Regions from separate parts of the Homo sapiens genome. Here region 1 is linked to region 2. The links are contacts of gene promoters, found by promoter capture Hi-C in human tissues and cell types (Jung and others, 2019). All regions are on one chromosome and are shown on one strand. Each heading gives the region's core, a stretch centred on a gene start or on the middle of the fragment in contact. The rest is flanking DNA. Distances are from core to core; before and after follow the strand shown. Region 1 has its middle 16 kb from the start of KRT5. Region 2 holds the start of KRT85 (keratin 85).

Region 1 (5,998 bases), core at 1,649-4,148, 170 kb before region 2:
TTCCCAGCTGGCTCTACCCTTGGCCTTCCCAGGCCTGCAGCCTGACCTGAGGCTCACTCTCTAATGTCCCTTCATTCAGTTGTGGCCTTCTCAAAGTGCCAGCTCAAGGAGAGATGCATTTTCAAGCCCAGGTTTCTGCCATAACTATTTCTTATTCCCTCCATACTTGACTAGAGTACAATTGCAGTCCACAGCTGGTGCTAGTGAAAGCGGTAGAGAAATCCACTGATGATCCAGAAATGAAGGCTACACCATAACACAGAAACTTCAGGATCACAGCTGAGCCAAATGGGAACCAGCTGCCCTCACTCGATCCAGATTTTTTTGTTTGTTTGTTTGAATAGATCTTTAATGGTCTTGGAATCCAGCCAAATGGGAAGAGAGGGGCCTCTGAGATGCCATGGAAAATCCTTGAAGCAAATAAAAGGTGGATGAATCATAACACTGGACTGCTTTAGGGATGGCTGGGACAAGGGAGGGTAGAGGGAAGATTCTTTCTCGATTTTCTCCCCAAAGCAAACAAAGTGAGTACCAGGGAAAGGGGCCCCATGCAGGCTGAGGCAGGTTTGGAAAGAGAGTTGGTGGGGACACTGCACCCTCTGAAGCCAGAAAGGCTGGGGCATTCCCTCTGCACATCCTCCCAGGCAAGTCCAGCTCAGCCTCAGGGCTCTCTGGATCTGAGACCCCTTAATCCATGGTCAGGGGTAATGGAAGGCATTTTCCCAACTCAGATGGAGGTGGCAGGGCCACACCTTTGAGCATCCTTCATGTTTGTGAGCAGCGTAGGTGTCCCTGGGTAAATGCTTTGGCTGGAAGAGATGTGCAGTGAGGGAGCCCTGAGCCAGGCCCAGAGCCTCCAGACCACTACAGTCAGACGTTAGGAGTCAACCATCATCAAACAGCATTTCACATCAGCTGCTGGGGCTGATTTGGAGCTCCAGAGAGCCAGCCTTTTATTTTGCCAAAATTGGACATTAAGAGTGCAACAATCACCACCCACTACCGTCATCATTTCATAAAAGAAAAGGACAATTTAACAGTAGGAAGGACATTCTCTCAGACTAAGCTCAGCCCTTTAGATAAAGTCAAGCTAGCCCCATGAAAGATTTACTGCATTGCACTTACTTTTCTCAATTGCTTCAGACTACTGAGAAACACATCAAACCTGCGCCCTGTCTCAGCATTTCCCATGTCACCTCTTTGTACCTCAGGGTCCTCATCTACACGATGGGAATATGACCACACTGTCAACTGCACAATGTTCAGAAAATCACCAAAAGGGATGGAGAAGGGGAAGCACACAGAAAAATACCAGGATCTCCTGCCTGTCAGGAACAAGGATGGCGATGATGAGGGTGACGACGATCCTGCAGGAGCGATGCCTTGCAGGGGTGAGGGGCCTGGCTCTGGGCCCAGCCTCCAGCAGGGCTGCCACACTTAGCAAGTTCTTTAATCTTCTTGAGTCTCTTTTCGCTTCTGTAGAAGTGAGGATAATAATAACAATAACAGTAATAATAATAATAATAACTACTTCTTTGCATCTTTTTGTTTGAGACATAAAATCCCAGGCCCATAGTAAGAGCTCAATAAATGTTAGCTATAGCAATAAATGATTACTATTATTAGATACAATAATACCTACCCTAGAAACTGTGGGTAATTTTTAGGGGTTCACTGGGGACTCTAGTCCTAAATCGATTTCCCAGCAGCGGGAGTACTTGTCTCCTCCTCCTTCTTCTTGTGCCCTAGACCAGTGTATTTTAGACCACGTTTCTGAAATGTTGCCTCCTCCAGGGGACTAATCAGAGCTTCAGTCTCTAACTTCCTTCTCCATCTCACCCCACTGCAGTGGAACTTTCCCCTGTACTTCTCCCTGAACCGAACTCTTGGAGTCTCCTTCTAAGGCCATGCCTTGCTCCAAAGTTCATGATTTACTTTAAACAGGATTGCTACTTCTACCCCCAAGTACCCCCTCCTCGACCTTTGGAAGTCTTGATCAATGTGTCCCCTGCATCCTGGAGGTTCCTGGTGGGCACAGCTTGGGTGGTGTAGTGTTTTTTGTGTGTGGTGTTCATGGCAGAATTGCTGCAGGCTGCACAAGGTGTTTGCGATGATGGCGATTACAAGAAACCTGCAGAGCCGCAGAGCTGTGTCCCCAGTGCTCTGGACACCATTCACTGGCACAGACTCCCCTCTCTGTGATGTAGGCACCCCTTGGTCTTGCTTCAGAGCTATCTTTGATGGGGTTAGAAAAGACTAGCAGACAGGTGGGAGACCTAGTCACCACCTGACATCCTGAGTGCCAGGCCTGTCAGCAGCCAGTACCGAAGGGCAAGAGCAGGCAGGCAGGGCTGGGGCTGAGTGCCAACCTGGGGAATGACATCTCTGTGGCACTGTGGTTGACTATCCAGGGCACGTGTCTACAAACTGGGATGGGAGGCAGGACAGTGGAGTGGAGAATAGACTGAAAAAGATGTCCAAAGTGGAAAAAAGGGAGGAGGGGAAGAGGAGGCGCAGGGACCTCTAGTCCACACCTCTGAGACTCTGCGGATTTGGAAAATGAAGGAAGGGAAGGGACAGGCTGTCAGTGCCACAAAGGACAGGGCCTGGGCAATGGGCTCACAGGGTAGCGAGAGGGGTGGAGACAGTGGTGTGCTGGTAACTAAAGTGTGCTGCTGAGCCTAACAACCAGCTCTCTGAAAAAATGCATAGATGTGTATATATACAAATATATATACATGTAAATGTGTATTTATGTTTATGTTATAAGTTTACTAGAAGTTTTACTGCTATATTAGATATGTAGCATACAGTTTACAAATAATAATAAAATCTACAAGTCTTTTTTTTTTTTTTTTTTTGAGACGGAGGCTCGCTCTGTTGCCCAGGATGGAGTGCAGTGGCACCATCTCGGCTCACTGCAAGCTCCGCCTCCCAGGTTCAAGCCATTCTCCTGCCTCAGCCTCCCAAGTAGCTGGGACTATAGGCGCCCGCCACCACGCCCGGCTAATTTTTTGTATTTTTATTAGAGATGGGGTTTCACCATGTTAGCCAGGATGGTCTCGATCTCCTGACCTCATGATCCACCCACCTCGGCCTCCCAAAGTGCTGGGATTACAGGCGTGAGCCACCGTGCCCAGCCCTACAATACTCTTTATTATAAACTTGATACAGCCAAGTGACCCTCATGGAATGCTTTCAGTTGGCTTTTGACAAACTCTTATGCCCATGGCTGGCCAGTGGCTGCAACCAACAAACCAGCATAGCCCCCACATGAATGTTAGCTCCCATGTTCATCTTCACAGTTAAGATGAACGTGAAATGATGAAGATGAATGTTGGAACTTACTTGCTCCTCAATGATGTGAGTGACTTTTTGGCTGAATCAGATAATGGGTTTTAAATACCGGGATATTATTTTGTATTTTTTGGCTATTCATAATGTTATTATCAATGGGCACAACATACTTTTAATTTTAATCTACGTTATAAACATTTTCCCCATCACTTTATTAAATTTAGACCAGAGCTGTCCAGTAGAAATGCAATGAAAGCCACAGATATTATTTAAAATCTGCTAGTAGCCACATTTAAGGAATAGACTAAATTAATTCTAATATATTTGACATAATATATAGAAAACACTATTCTTTCAATAGATAATCAATATAAACATTTTTGATGATATATTTTACATTCTTTTCTTCCATTCTGAATCTTCAATATCCAGTACATATGACATATCTAAGCTTGGACTAGCCACATTTCAAGTGCTCAGTTAGCCACATGGAACTAGTGGCAGCTGTGTGAGGCTGTGCAGCTCCAGACAATCAACCAAACAATAAACCAAGCTCTGATTTGTAGTGCTTGCCAGTTCGCTTGGGGTAAATTCTCCCACAAAGGTGATTTCAAGCTACCAACATGATGTCACTGATTACAGGCTGGAAAGAGATGTGAACACCATGGTAGGGGATTTCTGCATGTAGATTCAATAAATGTCAACAACCACAAGAACTTTGATAATATATCAAAGTAAAGTATAATAAAATTAGAAAATGATGAGTTTTAAACATTTCTTCCCTTTGTTTTTAATGCAATGTATTTAACTATAATTTTACATAATTTAATTTGAATTATGGCTATGTTTAATAACAGCTCACAACGTTCTTCAAAATTTAACAATCGGCTTTTGCAAACCCTTTCAGTTTGCTCTACCACAACAGTAGTCAGATATAAGAACACAGGGAGGTCTTCAAATGAGACGTGGTTTTTTTGCAACGATCAAAATGGGATTTATGTTTAGTGAAACTTAACAGACACTTATTGAGGTACCATCTGGTACAGGGATGATGCTGGAGGGTTGGCGCAGGACAGGGTGGCTACAGAATGAACACAATGTGATTCTGGCCCTCAGAGGTATTAAGGTTCTAAGGAAGCACAGATGATCACAGTAATAATAATATGTGCAAGTTAAAATGGTGGCCCTGAGGGTTGTGGATCCCAGAGGTGGCAAGGTTAAAGGGCATTTGGGTTCCAGACCTGGCTCTGTCTCTAAGTCACTGCCTCATTTTGCCCTCAGTTTCCCTTCCTGTTAAATGAGGGGGTTGAGCTGGGTGAACCCCCAGGTTTCCGTCCAGCCTCCAAGGTGGGTCTTCCAATGTAGCGACTGAAGAGTGTGGCTTTCTGGATTAAAGGGCATTGGAGCTGGGCTTTAAAACACTGCCTTCTCCAATGTCAGGAACTGTGAAGGTAAAAGGGGCAGGAACATGAAAGAAGCTTTGGGAAGATGAGATCCCTGGGCTGAATGCAAAATAAAGAAGGAAGAGTAAAGGGGGTAAGTACCAGAGTTTTAGGGGTAGGAGTGATGTTAGAGTTTATCTAGAGATCTACTAGGCCAGGGCTTCAGATTACAGATGGGGAACCTGAGGCTTAGAGGCGTTAAATAACTTGCCCCAGGTGACGCAGCCAGAAGGTGGCAGAATCAGGTCCACGTGACTCTATACAGATAAGGATATATGCAATGTGTGCTTTTTATGCCCAAACTCACACCTTCGGGTGGCTATTCCATATAACAACTTATTTCTAAATGTTTGGGTCTAGGATAATCATGGATGAAACCAAAACTAAAATTTTTCTTCTTATATGAAGACGGTTGGGTCCAGGATGCTCAAAAGGATGTCCTGAGAAAATGGCATGGAATATGGGGCAAATTCTATGAAAATGCGTAAGGAAAATGTAAAAACTGATAAAGCTGATAAAGCAATTTGCTTACATGAGCCCCTGAGAAAGGTCGAGGTGTTTGGGTACCTCAGCTTTGCATCTGCTGTCAGGAGGCCCCAGCAGCTTCCTCTTTACATCTGAACGCTTAGCCCAGCTGGCCTGGTGTCAAGCAGAACACAGTCAGCAGGCCGGGAGCCCAGGCAGGCCTATCCCCTCCATGCTCCGAGACAAAGCCTCCACTTCTAAAATGTCTCCAGGCCAGTGGACCAAGAGGTTTGAGTCTCCCACAGACGGACCCAGTAGGCCAGGCTCAGTTGGAGATTTTAATTTTGGACTCGTCAGAGTTCCAGAACTCTGGAATGTGGCAGCATGGAGAGAATTCCCAGCTCCTGGCCTGCAGCCTGCCCCTTTCTCTTCCTACCCCTGGCTTTGCTCCCTTGCCTACACAACCACAATCTGCAGACAGCCTAGAGGTGTGCCCAGCACCCGGCAGTCTGCTCTCCAGAGGACAGGCCTGAGCGTGGGCTGGGAGTCACTGGGGAGGGAATGCTGGGGTTTTAGGTAGCTGAGCGGGTCTAGAAGGGGAGTGTGGACCCCATGAGCATGGCCCTTGGCCCTGCAGACTCCTCACTCTGTGGAACAAGGGCAACTAGAAGGCCCAAGGCAGGGGCCCCTCTTGACCAAGTCTAAGGGGACTTTGGAGACAGCACCCACACTTGGGACACCAACTGGGGGAGAACCAGGTACCCAGGCCAAGCTTCCGGTGTCAAAAGACAGGA
Region 2 (6,390 bases), core at 3,454-5,953:
GACAATAATCCACAAATAGAATAAATAAGTAAATTCTGGACTGTGTTAAGTGTGATGGAAAAATAAATAAATAAGAGCAAGATAAGCTGGATGGAGAGTGCCCTGGGGTGGAGGGCAGGTTGCCATTTTTTTAAAGGGTCAGAGAGATGGTATAGGGGCAAAGCCCTGCAGGAGGCAATGGGCAAGCCACTTGGATGACAGGGGAGCATTTGGGTGGAAGAGACAGCAGGGCACAGGCCCTGAGTCAGGAGTGCACCCTGTCCTGGTGCTCCAGTGGGAGGTCACTGTGGTTGCTGAACACAGGGAGACCGGTGACAAAGGCCACAACACAGACAGGCAGTGCAGGGCCTTGTTGGCCATTGTTAGGACTCCAAGCAAAATGGGGAATTGGGTGTTTGAGCAGGGTAGAGACATGATCCAACTTATGTTTTACGGGGCTTACTCTCCTCGGCTGAGAATGGAGTTGGAGGGCCAGGGGCAAACAGGGAGACCAGCATGTCAATCTTATCTATTCTATAACTACATAAGTAAATACATGGCTTTATATAGCTGTTTTCCTCCTAGGATTTGGGGAGATGGCTCAACTGCCAAAAAGAAAAGAAAGAAAACATTTCAAAACCATTCATGCAGTACATTCCTGAAATCAGAGGCTCTGTAACGACTGAGCCACTGCTCTGATCCCGAGTAACCATGGAAAACAGCAAAGCACCAGGGAATGCTGCCAATAGGAAGGCACGTGGACAGAGTTCGGGAGGAGAATGGAGTTTCTTGGAGTTGCCGTGGAGCAGGCCAGGGAGCAGCTGTGTCAGCTGGGCACGGAACCCCGCCATGACACACTGGAGAACGTAGAGTTGCTCTGACCCTCCTTTCTCTCACTTAGGGTCCCTGAATCATGCCCAAGTCTTGTGAAAGTCAAAGAGAGGGAAAGAGGGCTAAGAAGAGCCTCCAAGAGCTGCGTCTCAGCAGCGGCAGTGGCGTAGCCTTAGATGCATAATAAAAGTGTGGCCAGCAGAGGCAAAGGGCGGTACCCAGTTTGAATCAGCTGTGCAGGCCTTGTCCATGGGGAGCCCATCAGGACTGACTGAGGGGGACCAGCCCACTAGGAGGGATGGGAAGACAACCCACAAGAGCCCAGGCAGGCACAAACACAAAACTGGGAGGACAGACAGTGCAGGATGGGGAAGGTGTCAGCACCCTCCTGTCTTTGGACAAATCCAGGAAGTCTTCCTGGAAGGAGGGGATTTTAGCACAGTAGAAAAAGCAGAAGGGAAGGGAGGTAGTGGGCCTCTGGGGTTGGGGAGAGCCAGCTGCCCCAGGGAGCATCCCAGCTCAGGTAAAAAGCACCGCCTGAGAGTGGGGCTGAGGTGGGAGCAGTGAGGCCTCTGAGAAAACCCCAGAATATGTACCTCTGGAGTGGAGCAGATTCACAGGAGGTCTCAGAGGTTGCCTGGAGCTCCAGGGTAGAGTAAAGAACTTCTCTCCTCAAGTAGTTCTTGAAGACTTTCTGGAAGAAGAAGCCACTTGGGAGCAGTTTAAATTATGGGAAGGTCGTGGATTCTTCAGATTCCCGAAACTAGATGGGGCCTTCAAAAGGTGCAGGGTACAAGAGGGGACAGAGCCAAAGGAGGTGATGAGTGACAGTCCTTAGGACAAGAGAGTGTAGAAGGGGATAAATGGAGTTACCTGGGGAGCCCCAGAGAGGGCATTTATGAGACAGCAGGGAGGAGAAATCACAGCCTCCCCCGATGAGCTCACAAAGCCTTCCTGGAAGAGGCAGCTATTCTGAGACATTCCAGGCCAAGGTGTAACAGGGAGAAGGTTGGTGGAAGGAAGAGGGATGCAATAGGGCACAGGTGAATGAGGGCACAGTGAATGAGGGTGAGACACTGAAAGGAGATGGGGCTCCCAGCCCCCAAAAGATCCTGACTCTCAGGGCAACGACTTGGGTTCCACTGGGCAGAGTGGTTGGGTGATGGCTAGAGGCAGGCAGGAGGCTATGTGTTCTCTGTGTCCTCCCTGGGTAGAACCATAAGCAAAGGCCCAGGTCTTTCCAGGGCAGCTGTGCCAGATCCACCTGGCCTGACTTGCTCCCTGGCCCTGGACCACCTGGGGCCAGCCCCGTAAGGAATCTGCTCCCCTCAAGGCTTTGCCCTCAGTCCAGCTCCTCCAATCCGAAGCTCCACCTGGACAGCATCCTGGGAAGCCCCCAGCCCCAGCCCTGGGCTCAGCACTGCCATCAGCAGTGATGCAAGCTTCACCCAGCACGCACGAGCACATTCCTGTGGGCAGGGTGGGCCTGTCTCACCCCCGCACACCCTCGAAGGGGCTCATACCCTTGGGCTGGACAGACCTGCTGGTCCTGTAGAGGTATCTTAGCTCTGGAAACAGTGGAATACCCCCAGACTCCTGAATCCCCTGGCCCCACCTTCCCTTCCCATTTAGGGTGGAGGGTTGGATGGGGTGTGTGTTGGGTGCAAGGGAAAGCAGCTGAAACAGGAGCCTCCCTCCAGGACAAAACCTCCTGCCCCCAAGAAGGAAGAGAAATGTCTCTGGTCCCATCATCTTTAAGAACCTGGAGGAGGGCAGAGGCTTACGGGAGTTGTGGAGAGAGGCAGGTGTTTCTGGGCTTTCAGTCCCCTCTACCTGCCACGTTCGGACCCCACCCTTCTCCAGGAATCCCTCTTGGCCCATACCACACCAGCTCCAGGTCTACATGGCAGTCAGTCAGTGAACTCACTGTCCAAACATCCCTGTATCCCAGCAATAGGCCCCACACTGAGCTCCCCCATACAGCCTCCTCTCTCTGTCCCCAGACTCCACCCAAAATTGCTATACAAGTGAAATCAGACTAAAAAAAAAAACATTAAAAGCAGTCTTGAAAGGGTGAAGGAGTCATAAATGTGCAGAGGAGGTGAAGGCTGTGGCAGGGCAAGGAACAGCCCTTTCTGCTGGGTGAGGCAGGTGGGAATGTTTCTCGTGGAAAGCAACAGTCCCTTTCCTTTACACAGAGCTTTCCCTCACATATCATCCTCTTCACCCTCCCAACAGCCCGGGAAGGTAAGGATGAATCCACATTACAGTTAAGGAAACAGAGGCTCAGAGAGTTTAAGAACTTCCTCCAAAACCATACAGCTAGGAAGGATCCAAACTGGCCCTTGAACCAGGTCTTCCAGCTTTGATTCCATTGCCCGGGTTGCCAAACGCAGTTGCTTTTCCATGGATGATTATGATCTGCATATGTTCTAGGGTCAGCTGGTGAGACCACCTGCTCTTCCCCCACCAGCTGCCAAGGTCTCTCTACCCTGCCCTGAAGAACAATGTGGAATGTGGAGGTGAGGTGGGAATCGATCAGCCTGATCCTGGGTGAAGGTCCTGGGTGAGGTCAGCTGGCTGTGGAGATTAGAGCAGATGCAGGACAGAGTACAGGGCATTTCGTGAAGGACTTATGAGAACAGCAGCATGATGGCAGTGTTTGGTTATGGAAGGCTTCCTGGAGGAGGAGTCACCCTCTGAGGAAGCTCATCGGCTCTTCTTCCTTAAGTTCCTAACACTTGGGTGTCTGGCTAACCTTCCTGGGGGCAGACCCACATCCCCAAGGTTTGTACTCCATAAACATTAAAAGAATAGCACTTGTTATCCTAATAAGTGTCCCAAGGACACACAGGGAAGCAGAAACTAGAAGGATGGGGCTCCCAGAACCCCCAGGAGCCAGAAGTCATAGCCACCTTAGACAAGAATAAACCACTATCCCACTTCCAGCTTTGTGCAATGCAGTCTCTAAACACTCCTCTAGGGATGACAATTCAAGGGCTGGCCAACAGAAGGAATACCTCTTGTAGCTGGTGGTCTGGGAAGGGAGACTCACATGACCTGTTTCTTCTTAAAGAGCAAAGCAAAGGTGCCCACAGCAAATTTATAGCCCCCAGGTTATCCCAAGGTTGAGTTCTCCAATCCTTTTGACCGAATGGAAGAAAGTGGCTAGAGGGAGTCTCCCCATAATCCGCAAGTAGCCATTATTGTGGCCACTGAGAGTTCTGTGGTTTGCACTTTTGCTGGGTGAGAAGTGAAAGCTCTGGACCAGCGCCTTCTGGGCTGGAATCCAGAAGGTTCCAAGAGATCATCTGCCCCAGCCTTTTATCCTGGCACGGGCATGGTCAAAATGACCGCTCTGGTCCTGAACCACCTTCCAAGCAATGCTGCCTAGATGGGGTGGGATTCGCCTGACCTATTGGCCCCTGAAATGCAATGATTTACTTGAGAATGTGTCCTCTGTGGAACCAGATAGATGAATGCAATGATCCCCCAAGTCTCACCTAACCCAGGACCCTCCAACCTCTCCCTTGAGACAATGGCTCCTGCCTGTATCCCAAACCCAGCCACCCCCAGGCTGTTGTGGAGTTCAAATCCGTCTCCAAGTGTGGGTTGAGGCCATCTCACAGAAAGACTGTGAGAAAATTAATTACTTAATGTATGTAAACGAGCTTTGAAGATGAAAAGTTCAAATGCAGTCTCCTTAATAACATCTTCAAGACTTCAGGGAGCCCCAGAGTCGCTGCTGAGCTCACCTTTAAGATGAGTCCGTGGGGAGTTGCTGGCAAACTCCCCAAGCCCATAAACAACATAAAATGGCTTTCCACTCCTTTTATGCAGCCAACCCCAGCTCTCCCCACCAATAAAAGGACCAGGGAGGATCAGAGAGAGCAGAAGGATCCTGAGCCTCGCACTCTGCCGCCCGCACCACCTTCCGCTGCCTCTCAGACTCTGCTCAGCCTCACACGATGTCGTGCCGCTCCTACAGGATCAGCTCAGGATGCGGGGTCACCAGGAACTTCAGCTCCTGCTCAGCTGTGGCCCCCAAAACTGGCAACCGCTGCTGCATCAGCGCCGCCCCCTACCGAGGGGTGTCCTGCTACCGAGGGCTGACGGGCTTCGGCAGCCGCAGCCTCTGCAACCTGGGCTCCTGCGGGCCCCGGATAGCTGTAGGTGGCTTCCGAGCCGGCTCCTGCGGACGCAGCTTCGGCTACCGCTCCGGGGGCGTGTGCGGACCCAGCCCCCCATGCATCACTACCGTGTCGGTCAACGAGAGCCTCCTCACGCCCCTCAACCTGGAGATCGACCCCAACGCACAGTGCGTGAAGCAGGAGGAGAAGGAGCAGATCAAGTCCCTCAACAGCAGGTTCGCGGCCTTCATCGACAAGGTGGGTGAGGCCTGAGACGGCCCAGAGAAGCCTCCAGCCCTGTCCTCCCTTGGGGAGGTCCCAGTCTGCTGAGGAGACAGGATGGCTGCCGGTTTGAGGCAGCAGAGGGAATGACGTGCAGACCCATACAGGTGGAAGGGTCAGTTTCCATCACTTAACTCCCGCAGCATTTAACGAGGTCCAGGTGTGGTCTAGAAATTGAGCCTGTGATCCAAAGTGTGTGCATGTGTGTGTGTGTACATGTGTGTGTGTGTAGCGGTGTGTGCGCCTGTACGTATGTTAGTGTGTGGTGTGTATATGTGTGTGTGTACATGTGTGTGAGCATATGTGTGTGTATGCATGTGAGTGTGTACATGTGTGTGAGCGTGTGTGTGTTTCTTGAGCCAAGACGACATAGGACTATCAGAACTGTGTCTGAAAAACCAGACTGGGCAGCAGGTGCTGGAAGAGTGGGAGATAACGGGGAGACCAAAAGACCTTGTGGCTCCTAGCCAGGCAGCCCGTGAAGGGGCTGGGGTAATGCCCACAGCCATGCTGCCTCTCCCAAGTCCTTGCTGCATCACTCAGCAGTGTGAGACCCCAGGCAGGTTACTCTGCTGAATAACAGGACTGCCTCATCCACCTGTGAGGAATTAATGAGTCCATGCATGAAACATGATGGCAAATAGTCAGCACTCAATACATGTTAGCTGCTACTATCATTATTTTCCAAGGACAGTGGTAGGTGAGGAGGTGTGACAGCCAACCCAGGCCTGGCAGCCCCTTCATGAGAGAGGGCTGAAATGCAGACAGGGAGGTGGCCAGGCTGGTAGGAGGAGGCCCCCTAATGCAGCCAGAGTGTGGAGAACGCTGCATAGCTGTGAGGCTGCCTCCCAAGAAAGTTTTGTCGGGGGAGGCTGGGAGCCTCCTTCACAGGCTCCTCCTGTGTCCACAGGCCTCTAGCAGAGCAGAAGGAGCAGCTTTGGGGGCCTAGGATCAGGGTTTGGGGGCAGAGGCAGTCACCTTCACGTTTTCACTCTTTCTTTAGTGATCTGAGTCCATCCTCACAGTGACGGGTTGGAGTGGGTATCAGCGTCTCCACTTATCAGACAGCAACTTGGAGCTAAGGGGGTGTATACGAGCATCTCAGACATGCTGTAGGGGGAGGCAGAGCATGCCTATCTCAAGACTATCGCTTACCATGAGCTGGGCA

Evidence for each region. Contacts are between HindIII fragments. The study calls those that stand out against the background at their distance.
Region 1: a fragment that was not itself captured here is called in contact with the fragment with the promoter of KRT85 in region 2 in 1 of the 25 tissues and cell types used here (bladder).

Annotation. Positions count from the first base shown.
Region 1 is chr12:52,533,646-52,539,643 of GRCh38, reverse strand. No RefSeq gene overlaps it. Among named protein-coding and RNA genes, the nearest start is that of KRT5, 16 kb to the right of the region's middle. The HindIII fragment of the contact is 6,747 bases long and covers 1-5,998 here.
Region 2 is chr12:52,365,794-52,372,183 of GRCh38, reverse strand. It overlaps KRT85 (keratin 85), which reads left to right and starts at 4,703. Exons shown (of 9, transcript NM_002283.4): 1 at 4,703-5,198. The coding sequence starts at 4,779. RefSeq lists an enhancer at 1,652-2,151. The HindIII fragment of the contact is 10,604 bases long and covers 1-6,390 here.